Linked DNA regions of Homo sapiens: region 1 is linked to region 2. Evidence: promoter capture Hi-C in human tissues and cell types (Jung and others, 2019). All regions are on one chromosome and are shown on one strand. The core of a region is centred on a gene start or on the middle of the fragment in contact, and the rest is flanking DNA. Distances in the headings are between cores, read along the strand shown. Region 1 overlaps ITGA1 (integrin subunit alpha 1). Region 2 holds the start of ITGA2 (integrin subunit alpha 2).

Evidence for each region. The method cuts DNA at HindIII sites, captures the fragments that hold promoters and counts their contacts. A contact is called where the count stands out against the background at its distance.
Region 1: a contact is called between a fragment that was not itself captured here and the fragment with the promoter of ITGA2 in region 2, in 1 of the 25 tissues and cell types used here (hippocampus).

The regions. Positions count from the first base shown.
Region 1 is chr5:52,805,796-52,811,540 of GRCh38, reverse strand. All of the region lies in intron 1 of ITGA1 (integrin subunit alpha 1), which reads right to left. Among named protein-coding and RNA genes, the nearest start is that of PELO-AS1, 7.9 kb to the right of the region's middle. The HindIII fragment of the contact is 3,674 bases long and covers 2,132-5,745 here.
Region 2 is chr5:52,986,098-52,991,715 of GRCh38, reverse strand. It overlaps ITGA2 (integrin subunit alpha 2), which reads right to left and starts at 2,364. Exons shown (of 30, transcript NM_002203.4): 1 at 2,184-2,364. The coding sequence starts at 2,247. ITGA2-AS1 (ITGA2 antisense RNA 1) reads left to right here and starts at 1,430. Exons shown (of 4, transcript NR_186583.1): 1 at 1,430-1,626; 2 at 3,440-3,512. RefSeq lists a silencer at 2,411-2,560 and an enhancer at 3,025-4,224. The HindIII fragment of the contact is 5,063 bases long and covers 1-4,731 here.

The DNA.
Region 1 (5,745 bases), core at 2,719-5,218, 180 kb after region 2:
CCTTCTAGCAGGCTGCTCTCCTTAGTAGTCAGCCAAACCCCAAATCTGGCAGCTTTTAAAATAGGGTGCAAAAAAGATTCTTTTTAAACCTGAGAGTCACTAAAGATTTATTTTACTGGAAAGACATGATCGCAAAAATAACAAGCAATTATTGTTACTGCACCAAGTAGAATCAGATATCTGCAAGAGAGATTATGAAGTCAAGAGCCACCCTTCTTTGCTCATTCTGCAGATGAAGAAACCAACTCTCAAAAAGATGAAATTATTTCCTCAAGTCACACAACCTAGTGGCAGGGCCTGGTGTCATGAGTCATGGGCCAGTTCTTACACCATATCCTCTGAGAATGACATGGATGATTTCTTCCTTGTATCATACTTGGTTATTCACAAATGCAATGTTCTTGCAAATGTTAATATTATAATCTTTGGTAACTGTAGCAAATAATCGTTGAATTATTTTGTAATTTTTGGTGTGCAACATCCTTTGCAAAGTCCTAAATTTCATACAGATGTGAAAGCTGGTTGCGCTACTTTATTGATCCTCACAATTAAAATTTCTAATTCATCCAGAAGAACATATGTGAATCTGTATGAAATACATATCTAAGAATTTTAAATTTACAATGAACCATTATAAAAAGGCCTTGACCTTCTCCACATTTCCTACCTACTTGCCCGTTTCCCATTATATTTTACTCTGACCTAGGGAAAGTACAGGATCAGAGATAAAGGTGAAAATGATTCCCAGAAAGACAGGAAAAATTTGAACTTATTAAGCTCTATTAAGTTTTAGATAAGGAGTTAGGCCCAGAGTGAGAAATTTACTGTGGTGATAACAGACTCATTCTCTTGAAAACCTACTAGTGTATTTAATGAGGCAGATAGTGAATTTTGCATCAGTCTTCGCACTTTCCCACATTCCACATGCTATCCCATTTTCTTCCAGTTCAGGCTGAGAACACACTGACACACAAAGGGTCAGAGAACTATTCCCAGAGTTCATTCCTCCTCATAAAATAGATTGTGGTTTTTTTCTCCCTTCTGCAGAAAATGTTCTTTCCTTCTACCATATCCAATCCATGTTGGCCATTTAGTAAAATGAACAACTTAAGAGAGAAGTTATTTTTGTTTGTTAAAGGTGTTTTCCTGAGTTTTACAACGAAAGATAAAATGTTGAATATAAAAATAGAAAAGACCCCGGTGGGTCTTTCTAGTGTCCAGCCCCAGGGCCTTCCCCAGGCCCCAGCTAGCTCCTTGTCACTTCTTTATTCCTGACTTCAGTCCCCAGGGGTCAGTTTCCCTTTCCCTGAGGTGGCTGTGCCACCAACCAGTTAATCCTGGACATTCTTTCTTCCAGGAATGGCTATGGAAAGGGACAGAATGTCTCAAACTCCCCTGTCACCATCCCCATCTTTGCTGTCCTAAAAACGAAAGAAGCTAAGCTTCCTTTTCTGGTTTAACCAGTCAGTGCTTAGTCATGTAAGAAATGCAGAGGAGACAACAAAAACATGGATACTATTATACAAAGGTTCCACAATCTTTCAGAGTCCTTTCAGTCATGGTCCCTGGTCTGTATTTGATTTTCATTTTCTTATGAGGGTAGGAGGTAATGGAATCTCCTTCTCCATGATGTCTCCTCTCAGGTTTGTTGACTCCACAGTAAATATTTAACATTTAGAGAGATCAGGGATTACAGAGACCACTCTGTAGAAGAAAAATATTACCAAAGTGAAGTTGAGGCCAGGTGCAGTGACTCACGCCTGTAATCCCACTTGGGGAGGACAAGATGGGCAGATCACTTGAGGTCAGGAGTTTGAGACCAACCTGGCCAACATGGTGAAACCCCGTCTCTACTAAAAATATGACAATTAGCTGGGTGTGGTGGCACGCACCTGTAATCCCCAGCTACTGGGGAGGGTGAGGCACGAGAATTGCTTGAACCCAGGAGGCAGAGGGGCAGTGAGCCAAGATCAGGCCACTGCACTCCAGCCTGGGGTATAGAGCAAGACTCTTGTCTCCAAAAAAAAAAAAAAAAAAAGTAAAGTTGAGAGGCCTTAAAAGAGGAATAATCTCAGGTCCCTTCACCTGATCTCTCTAGAAACTAATGGAAGATCAGTGTGGGCTTCTGGAACTTGCCAGTTTAAACTCTGGGAATACCTCCTCACTAAAGCCAGGCTGAGTTAGCCCTCTGAGCTCCCATGTTCCTGTGCCAGATTGCACTGCTATTACTACTGCTTTACCATTCGTTCCCCATTGTAGACTGTGTTTTTTTGCAAGGAAGAGACTGTGATCTTTCTTTACTTCTGATCACTGGGGGCTATTAGAGTCCCTGTCACATAGTAGGTACTTAGTACATGATTTTCAGAAAAATGAAATGGTTCTCAGAAGAAGAAAGGCAGGAAGAGTTCCCTATAGGGAAATATAAATACTCCTCCAAGGAATGAACAAGACTTCAAAACTGAGTTTGAGTCTCAGCAATGCTGCTCAGAGAAAAACTGCCTTGCCACAAGATGATAATTTGATAAATAAGGAGGGTTTAAGGCATTTTTGAATCCTGCATTGTTCCTTGTTCCTCTACCCCAAATGACTCAATATGAATAGGTGACAAAAAGTAGGTGACATTGGAATCAGATATATCAAACAGGAATGTGGACCCTGTGAAAAACTCCTATTGTGTTTGAGCAAGTTACCAACCCTCTCTGGGCTGGCTTAAATCTGTAACATGAAGGAACTAGGTCCGATGATATATAAAGTTCCTTACAGCTTTAACCTCTTATGATTTTAAGTGATTCAGAGCCATGTACTGAAATGTATTTTAAGCTTCCTCTTCAAACTCATCAAACAAAAAAAAAAAAAAAAAAAAAGAAAGAAAGAAAGAAAAAGAAAAAAAGAATTATACCATAGTCAACAACACACTTGGGGAGGAAAAATAAACTATAAATTATGGTCATCAGATCAAATGAGCTGAAACACAAGATTAAAATGTTTTCTATCCACAGAGCAATTTTTCACAATGGTGTCAAACAAAAAGTTCTAGTCAATGTTTACACTAGGACTTGATGAAAAATTCCAGACATAAAACTTCTGGAACGTAGACTTGAACTCAGAAGGACCTCCTATCTCTGAATAAATTGTACAACTAAAATCTATTGGGATTTTTTTCCTTAACAAAAATTCATCCTTCAACAATTATTTGAGTTTTATTACTGAGACTATTAAGGCATAGTAAAACTCTGGTTATCTGGAACAGTCATTCTAGGTATGACAGCTAAAGATTTTTTAAAGTACCACTATTTTTGGATGAAAATCATTGAAAGACATTACATTTATTTGACTTCTTTAACAGAATACACTGAATGTAATTTAATCTTTTCCTCAGTGTGAATACCAGGTACTGGTATTGTCCTCAGTAACATCCTCAAGTCCCAGTGAAATACTCTATAATACTCTAGGCTTTTTTTCTTTTGACAGTGTTTCAGAATCCACTCCCACTATCAGCTGTCACTTTTAACTGCTGTCAATTCTGTCAACTTGGCCACTTGTGGTCATCTCCTGCTGATATCTAATTTCTAGATTAAAGGCAGGGAAAACTGTCTTAATTCATCCTTGCATACCCAGGGGTAGCATAGTTCTAGCTACTTAAGGTGAGTCATTAAAAAAAAGTTTATTGTAATAGTGCATGACTTAATTGTAGGTTTAAAATTAAGCAACAAAAAAAGCTTGCTGAAACTAGGTGTGAAATAACAATAAATGAATGCTGGATAGTGCTTGAGGGGATTGCTTTAATACATAGATTTGCCACATTTTCTCTGCTTTCTAATTCTCCACTATGATCCAGGTAGATTAGAGGACCACAGAATTGAGTTCCTGATTTTTCATAAGATGACAAAATAATAGAATAAAAACATTAAAAATGATTGCATAAACTTTGGCTGATTATATAAAATTTAGTGTCATCAAATAATTTATTTTTATTTTTAGATACATGTTTGCCTACTCCAAACTGAAAGCTGAGAAGAACTGGCATTCTTAGATTTTTTAGGGTGATAGCTGAGGGAGCACCTCATCACACCCACTAACTGTTATTTTGGATAAATTATTTAATCTTCTTTAATTTCATTTTTTTTGCATCAGAAAATAGTAATGACAAAACCCTTCTGACTGGGTTCTTGAAAGACTAATGCATTTTAAAGCACTTACCATAAGACCTGACACTTAATAAGCACACAGTTACTTTTGTTATAACAGGTTGTCCATTCCTGGAGTGGGGACAGTGGTACCAACCCTGGGCAAAGCCAGGCAATATGACTGCCAAAACATTTTGCTCTTGAATTTGCTACTTGGCAAATACTGCTCTTGCCTCAGTATTGGGTGTTTTGAAAACAAATGTGGCACCCAAATAGAAATAAGCTTTAAATTCCTTAAATCTCTGACATTATAGAAAACAGGCACTTCCATTGAACTAACATTCTAAAGAATGGGGTTTTAATGTAGGCAATTTTAGGAAATAAAGAAAGGAAATTTAAAAGAAGACTGATATCCAAGTCTCCACAATTTATCATAAATGTTATCATCCTTAGCACTGAAATCTGAAAATTTAAGACCTTCCCATATCAATGTCAATTATTATAGAGTTAAAATATTCATTGTAAAAAGCAAACACTGTAGCCTCAAATTTGTATGCAACTATAATACTACACACAAAGGTGTTTGTCCTTACAGAAACTCATTCATTTCTCAATTTAAATTAAAACATTCATAATATTCCAATTTATTAATCAGTGTTATTTATCTCAACACAATATAATAACATGTTACTGAAAATAGAGATATTAAATACTGCAAAATAGTTATTTTACAGATTATTCTTGGAAATTTAGAAATAATAGTGTAACATGTGGATGAGAATACAGATGGTGATATATATCACACACTTCCTAAAAAGGACTAATTCTTACTATATAAAGAAAAACAATGAATGAGACTTTATCATCGCCACTGAAGAAGGTATCTCCATTAATAAATACCTTCTCCCAATGTTTTTGAATGGTATTTTTAACCTAAATAAATATCTCTTTACTGAACTTGGTCAATTTTTTTATTTCTACGTGAAGTTTACTACTTGATGACCATATTTAGCAACTCCTGATTGTTCTCCTTGTTAAATCCAAGACTACTAATACAGGTTTTATTTTCTAACAGCTTCATTAGCTGCATTTTTAACTTCTAAATCTTTTCCTAAAAAGGCATAATTGATTCACAAAAATATTATAATTGCATCCTAGATCCTTTATAAATCATGTTGGCTGTGTGTAACACTTTTACACTAAATTTCTAAATCAATTCAATTCATGAGAGATACATATAATACATTAGGAAAATCTTGAAGAGCACTTTTCTAAAATACTGAATCTCTTAGAGTATATAAACTGAATCACACCACAAAGTTTAAATATGCTGACATCCATTGGAAGAAAATTATTTTACTGAGCATTTTACCAACTTTATTGGAATTAATTGTTCTTTCTTAAGTTGCTCTTCAGCTCTTCACTTTAGTTGTGCTTCACTGCTGGAGAATTCATTTACTTAAACATGATATACCAGCAAAATTGTGTGCTGGTCAAAATCAATTTTTGAAACAAATTATTTTCAAATCATTAAGAAAGATGTAAATCCAACTGCAAAATTGATGCCACAGTTCAGACTCTTGTGGTTCCTCACGGAATAAAAGGGGAAGTGTATCTC
Region 2 (5,618 bases), core at 1,115-3,614:
TTAAAATAAGATTTGAAGGTGATATGTTTTTAAAGTGGTTTGCATGTATGCTAGAGATGATACAAGATGTCTAAACACACATGTGTTTTATACATATTAACAGGTATATATATGTATATACAATTGTATATACATAACACGGCATATTGTATACTCAAGGAACAGGTTTTCTCTTAATTTAAGATCATCATAATGAAGCTCTGTCACATACATAGCTTTTAAATTTGAATTTTTGTATGTGATATGATGCAATTGTACATACTATAATTTTATAACAGTTATGTGTGTGTGTGTGTGTAATGATAGTGAATGAGAAATTTTATACAGATAGGGTAATGCCATACAAAATTTTAGATACTACTGAGCTAGAGATTTCACTTATTCATGTTAACCTGGGATACTCATGGTACCAAAAAACGATGCTGCTTCTCCAGGAACCTCAAGTGATATCACAAATGAGAGAGCTTTCTTATGAGGATCTTAAATTAAGAGAAAACCTGTTCCTTGAGTATACAAATGGCTGGAGTAGGAGGAGGGAATAAATGCACAAAACTTTTGCAGATGTTATTTTCGATCATCTCTGCTTGCTTGCCCTGAGGTGTCCTTATTAACTCCAGGTTAAGTCTCTGTTCCTGACTTCATGCCTTGCAGCGTTACATTCCATTAAAGAATTTCTCACTGCTCTTTACATAACAAGCCTCAACATTTCAAAGATAAGAAAATGATGTTATGTTTCCACAGCTTATTTTAATACTGGGTAATTACAGAGAGATGAAAAGCTTGGGTTTATATTTCTATTAGCTCTAGTTGTATTCCAGAGACTCATTTTCAATGTCAAGTACAACTTTACCTGAAATCCGTAGATTAGGGTTGGTGGCCCCTCAAAACAACTCATCTGGTTCCCGGAGAAAGTATCTGAAGCACCCAATACAGGTGAGACAGAAAACCTAAGATGCCCATTCTCTGCTCGGGCTGGGGACAGTGGTGCTATTTCTCTCTTATCTCTGACCTGGAGAAAATGCCACCAGGTTGACGTGGACTAGGATTCATTCCTCCACAATAAAGAATAGCAAGTGGCTGAATGTCAGTCTCAAAGGAGGACAGCTTAGGAAATATTTATCTTCTTTGTAAAAAAAAAAAAAAAAAACCACACACACACTTTAAAATCAGAGACAACTTTTTTGTTTTGTTTTGATCGCTGTTCAAACTACATTATACAAACGTGTCTCCTTCTCCCTCCAAATAAACTAAAATTCTTAAATTTGACCACACTCTAGCTCTGCCTAATGGTCAGGGAAAAAGTACTCAGGCGATGGTCCCACAAAAGCTCTCCACCCCAGCCTTATTTCCTCCTCTTAGTGTAAAAGAACTCAGGAGGTGGGCGGGCCCCACTGCCACAGCACTACAGTTAGAGCGGCTGCTCCGGCTTATTCTCTCATTGCGGCATCTAGGATCCAGAAGTGAAAAGAACTTTTCCTAGCCTAAGTTTACATTCGTCGAATAGACAATGTTACAACAATAAGAGGAAGGCAGAAGGGAAGGAAGAATTCCCCTCTGCCAAGTATTTAAGTGGCGCTTGGTTTATTCCAAGTCCCCCCGGGAAGAAACACAGCGCTTCGTCCTCAAGTAAGAAATAGAGGCATTATTCACATCCTTGGGTTGAAAAATAAGCATTTTGGGGCTCGCAGGCTTCTGCAAAGCCAGCAAGCACCGCGCTGGGGAGCTGCAGGCCGCCATCAGCAATGGATTCCGGATTTCCCTGGTCTCTGGCAGGCGCGGCACCTGTCTGAGCCAGGGGAAGTTGGGCTGCAGGACTCGCGGTCTCCAGGACACCCGCGGATCCCCACACTGTCCATGCTTGAGTGCGTGCGTGTCTGTCTGTGTGTGTGTGTGTGTGTGTGCGTGTGTGTACCTAAAACAAAGCACTCACTGAGATGACTTTGGAGGGTGCTTAACAGACAGGGCGAGACGCGCCTAATGGGGACGCAAGGCCTGGGATAGCAGGAAGGGAACGAAGAAGTATCTCTTTCCAAGCAGGTCCTGGTGGCTGGGAGCCCGAGTCCACGTGGAATCCGAGGGAACACACGGAGCTCGCTCCCTAGTTCCGCCCAATCCCTCCAGCGAGCCCCAGGAAGCCGCGCGGGTCCCTCCTGCAGCCGATGCAGAGCGAAATCCCCGCTTACCTTGACTGAGCGCTAACACCAGCAGCAGCGGCAGCGGCGCGGCCCCTGTCCGTTCTGGCCCCATCCTGGGTCTGACCGGGGGACCGTAGTTGCGCTGGGTTTGCAGAGGTTTGCAGAGGATACCCTTGGCCGAGGGATACGAGAACCTGCACACTCTAGAAGCTGTCCAGAGGGCTTCTCTCCCCCGCCCGGTGAGAGCAGGGAAAAGTTTCTGGGCAGCTCCTGCAGCGCCGAGGGCCCGCCCCAGCCCGCCCCTCCTGATTCCGCAAACACCGGATCTGCTCCGGCCGCGCCCCGCCCCACCCCGGCCCTGCGGCCCCGCGGGCTGCACCTCGGCTCGTCCACACGCGGGGCACCGCACCTTGGCTCCCGTACAGCGGCCCAGCCCCGGCAGCCTGGAGGCGGTGGGGATGGGGATGGCGCCCTGGCAGGCTTTCCTGCCCTGGACGGGACGGGTGGGCATATCCGACGGGCGAGCGCCCGCCCTGGCACCACTCCGCCCCCGCAGCCTGTCGCCAGCACGCAGGAGATGCCCCAGTCCCCGGGAGAACGTGGCCCCTCCGCAGCCCTTGGCAGCGCCCGGCTCCTGGCAGCGGGTGCCGAGGGCACTAGCCCTAAACCACAGTGCCTAGGGGCTGCGCGGTGCGTCCCTTTCTCTGTTTTTCCTAAGTGGGTGGAGAAAGGGACAAAAATAAGCGCAGAATGACCAGGTTAGAAACTAACTCATCAGGAAAGAAGATCTGCTCACAAGTTATGATTATCCAAGGTGATATTTAAGCAATACCTGCTGCAAGAGCTGTGTGTGTGTGTGTGTGTGTGACAGAGAGACAGAGAGAGAGAAATCATCATTACTTCCTCTCCTCCGAGATAATTAAGAGCTGATTTAATGACTGAGTTTAGGAGATTAACTTCAAGGCCAGAGAAAAGGCTGAGAGCCCATACATGCACTTGTGACTCTCCCTGTCTACATTACACCATGACATAGACTGTGACCATTTTCTTCCATTATTTCAGTCTCACATCTGGAAAGAGAACATTCTATATCCGAGATTTTTAGTTAAAAACCTAAGAAATAGGATATTAATTTTTCTTGTCTGAATCTTATGTTTTATCCAAAAGTTTGGCCACAAATTTCCAGCACATTGCTGAAACCAGAATTCTTCCAGTGACTACTTTTGTGAAGGAACGAACTGTTTTCATAAATCAAGCTTAAGGAGTTATGAGTCTAATAATCATCATTATTGTCATCATTCCAGATCTTCATGGAATGCTACTATGAGCTGAATGGGATGCCTGAGATACTGCCTCTAGGAAGCAAAGTGGCTCAAGGTGGGAAGGACTTAATAATTCATAAAAATCAAGCTCTTCTCTTTACTATAGATAGGGCTGATGTGTCACATTGTTAAAGTATTAAATTGGTATGCATCAGATGTTGCTGCTGATGGCTTATGACTAATACCCTTTGAACCCAAATTATATAGTCCCAGGCTCTTTCCTGTTTTCTTATCAGTCACTTACTGGCTGCACTTACTCACCTTGACAAACACCTGAAGGCATTTTTTTCTGAATTGTCTGGGGTACTCACCTGCTTACTAAAACTCCGGCTATCACCTGAGAGCTCTTAGGTGGCTGCTCACTAACCGGTGACACGATTTTGACGCTCCTTACAGACTTTTTGAAGGAAGTCAGCCAGGTTTCAGGGAGATGAATATCTGTCTGTTTCCTTCTGACTCACTGAAATGTGAGTAAGTGTTTGGAACAGACCTGTGTTTGGGAGGCAGGACACTTCCTTTAATGTGAGACAGGAATTTGTGTTTTATCTCTGGGGGTGGGGGGAAATAACATGCATCCTTCTTGGTTTTTGTTCTCAGAACTGGACAAATTAACATTACACTGTCATGAAGTGCAGAATAAGTCAGGAGCTACGATTTTCCAGAGCCAGGCAAAACTTTTAGAAACAAAGAACAAACTCCTGCCTCACATTAATTTTAAGAGGATAAAGTGTTCCTGAGACAAAGTAGTTTGAGAACCCCTTCCAGGGTGCTCTCCTGCCTAGTTGCAGTTGTGAGGGACACCACATTCAGAGCAGGAAATATGGAAGGTTAAGCTGGGGCTTCTCAAACTCTTTGGTCTCAAGAGCCCTTTACTCAGTAAGTCCTTTAACAAAAATCCTATTATGTGTGAACATAAATAATGTACATTTTATGAAAAATAACTATATTTCTCCAAATGAAAGAATCCGGGAGAAGAGTGGCATTGCTTTACATTTTTGCTAATATTTTAAATATCTGGCTTAAAAACAGACATTTGGATTCTCAGATCTGCTTCTGCATCCAATCTGTTACGGCATGTAGTTTTGGTGAAATTATATTGATTAATCTGGTGTTACACAGATATGGACTTAGAAAAACAGGAGATAATTCTGGATAATCCCCTGATACTACACCAAAACTCAACAAGTGGTAGTTTCTTAAAGTTGCAATGTGGAATCTGAAACCATATCAATGGTTTTTCCTATTCCGTGGCATTAAAATTCATTGATCTGCTGGCCTCTCCGTGTCCCTCTCCCTTTCTCTTCCTGTGAGTGCCCAGTGATGAAGAATACAATGACCACCAGTCCCCATCCTTGTTCTTGCACCATGAGGGCAAATGTCAACACAGTGAAAAACGCAGTAACGTCTCAGTATTGTTATGAAAATAGTTTTGACTTCACTGGCCACTTGAAAGGATCTTGAGAGACCCAGAGACCCTACTCCAAAAAGCACTCAGGGGTGAAGTGAGGCCTTCCCCTCTTTTTCTTTTCCTTAGCTCAAGACAGAGTTTTGTTGGGGAACACGGCTCAGATAAGTTTCCCCAGTGTTTCCTTCTGATCTGTTGTATCGTCATGCCCTGCCCTCCTTTGTTTATCCCGTTTTCATATAGACAATCACCCAAACCAGAAACCTCTGCTTTCTTCCCCAGGTGCACCACCAGCCCCCTGCTAACATCCCATTCCAATTCTGTCTTTACACCCTACTAGGGTTTTCTGTGCCATCTCCTATTTTCTGTTCCACTGCTAATCTCTCTTTGGTTCAAACCCTTTTGATCTTTCACCATGGTGACAAACTCCCATATAATCTCTCTGTGCTTCCTTCTCTCCTGTTCCAGTTCATCTTTTATACCTGTTGTCACAGTTATCCAAAAATGCAGGACTGATCTGCTGAAAATCATTAGATGTCTTCAGGACATTCAAAGTACCCTAGGGTTTAAGGTCACGATTTGGCTCCAACTCACCTCTGTGGGCTCCGTGGCTATCTTTCCCTCTTGCACACTATGTTTAGGCCAAATTCACGAGTTCACTGGCCTGCCTTTCCCATTCTTCATTGTCAATTCCTTATTTTTCTACTTAGAATAGCTTTCTTTTTTTCTTCCATTGTTTCAAATTCTACTTCAAGG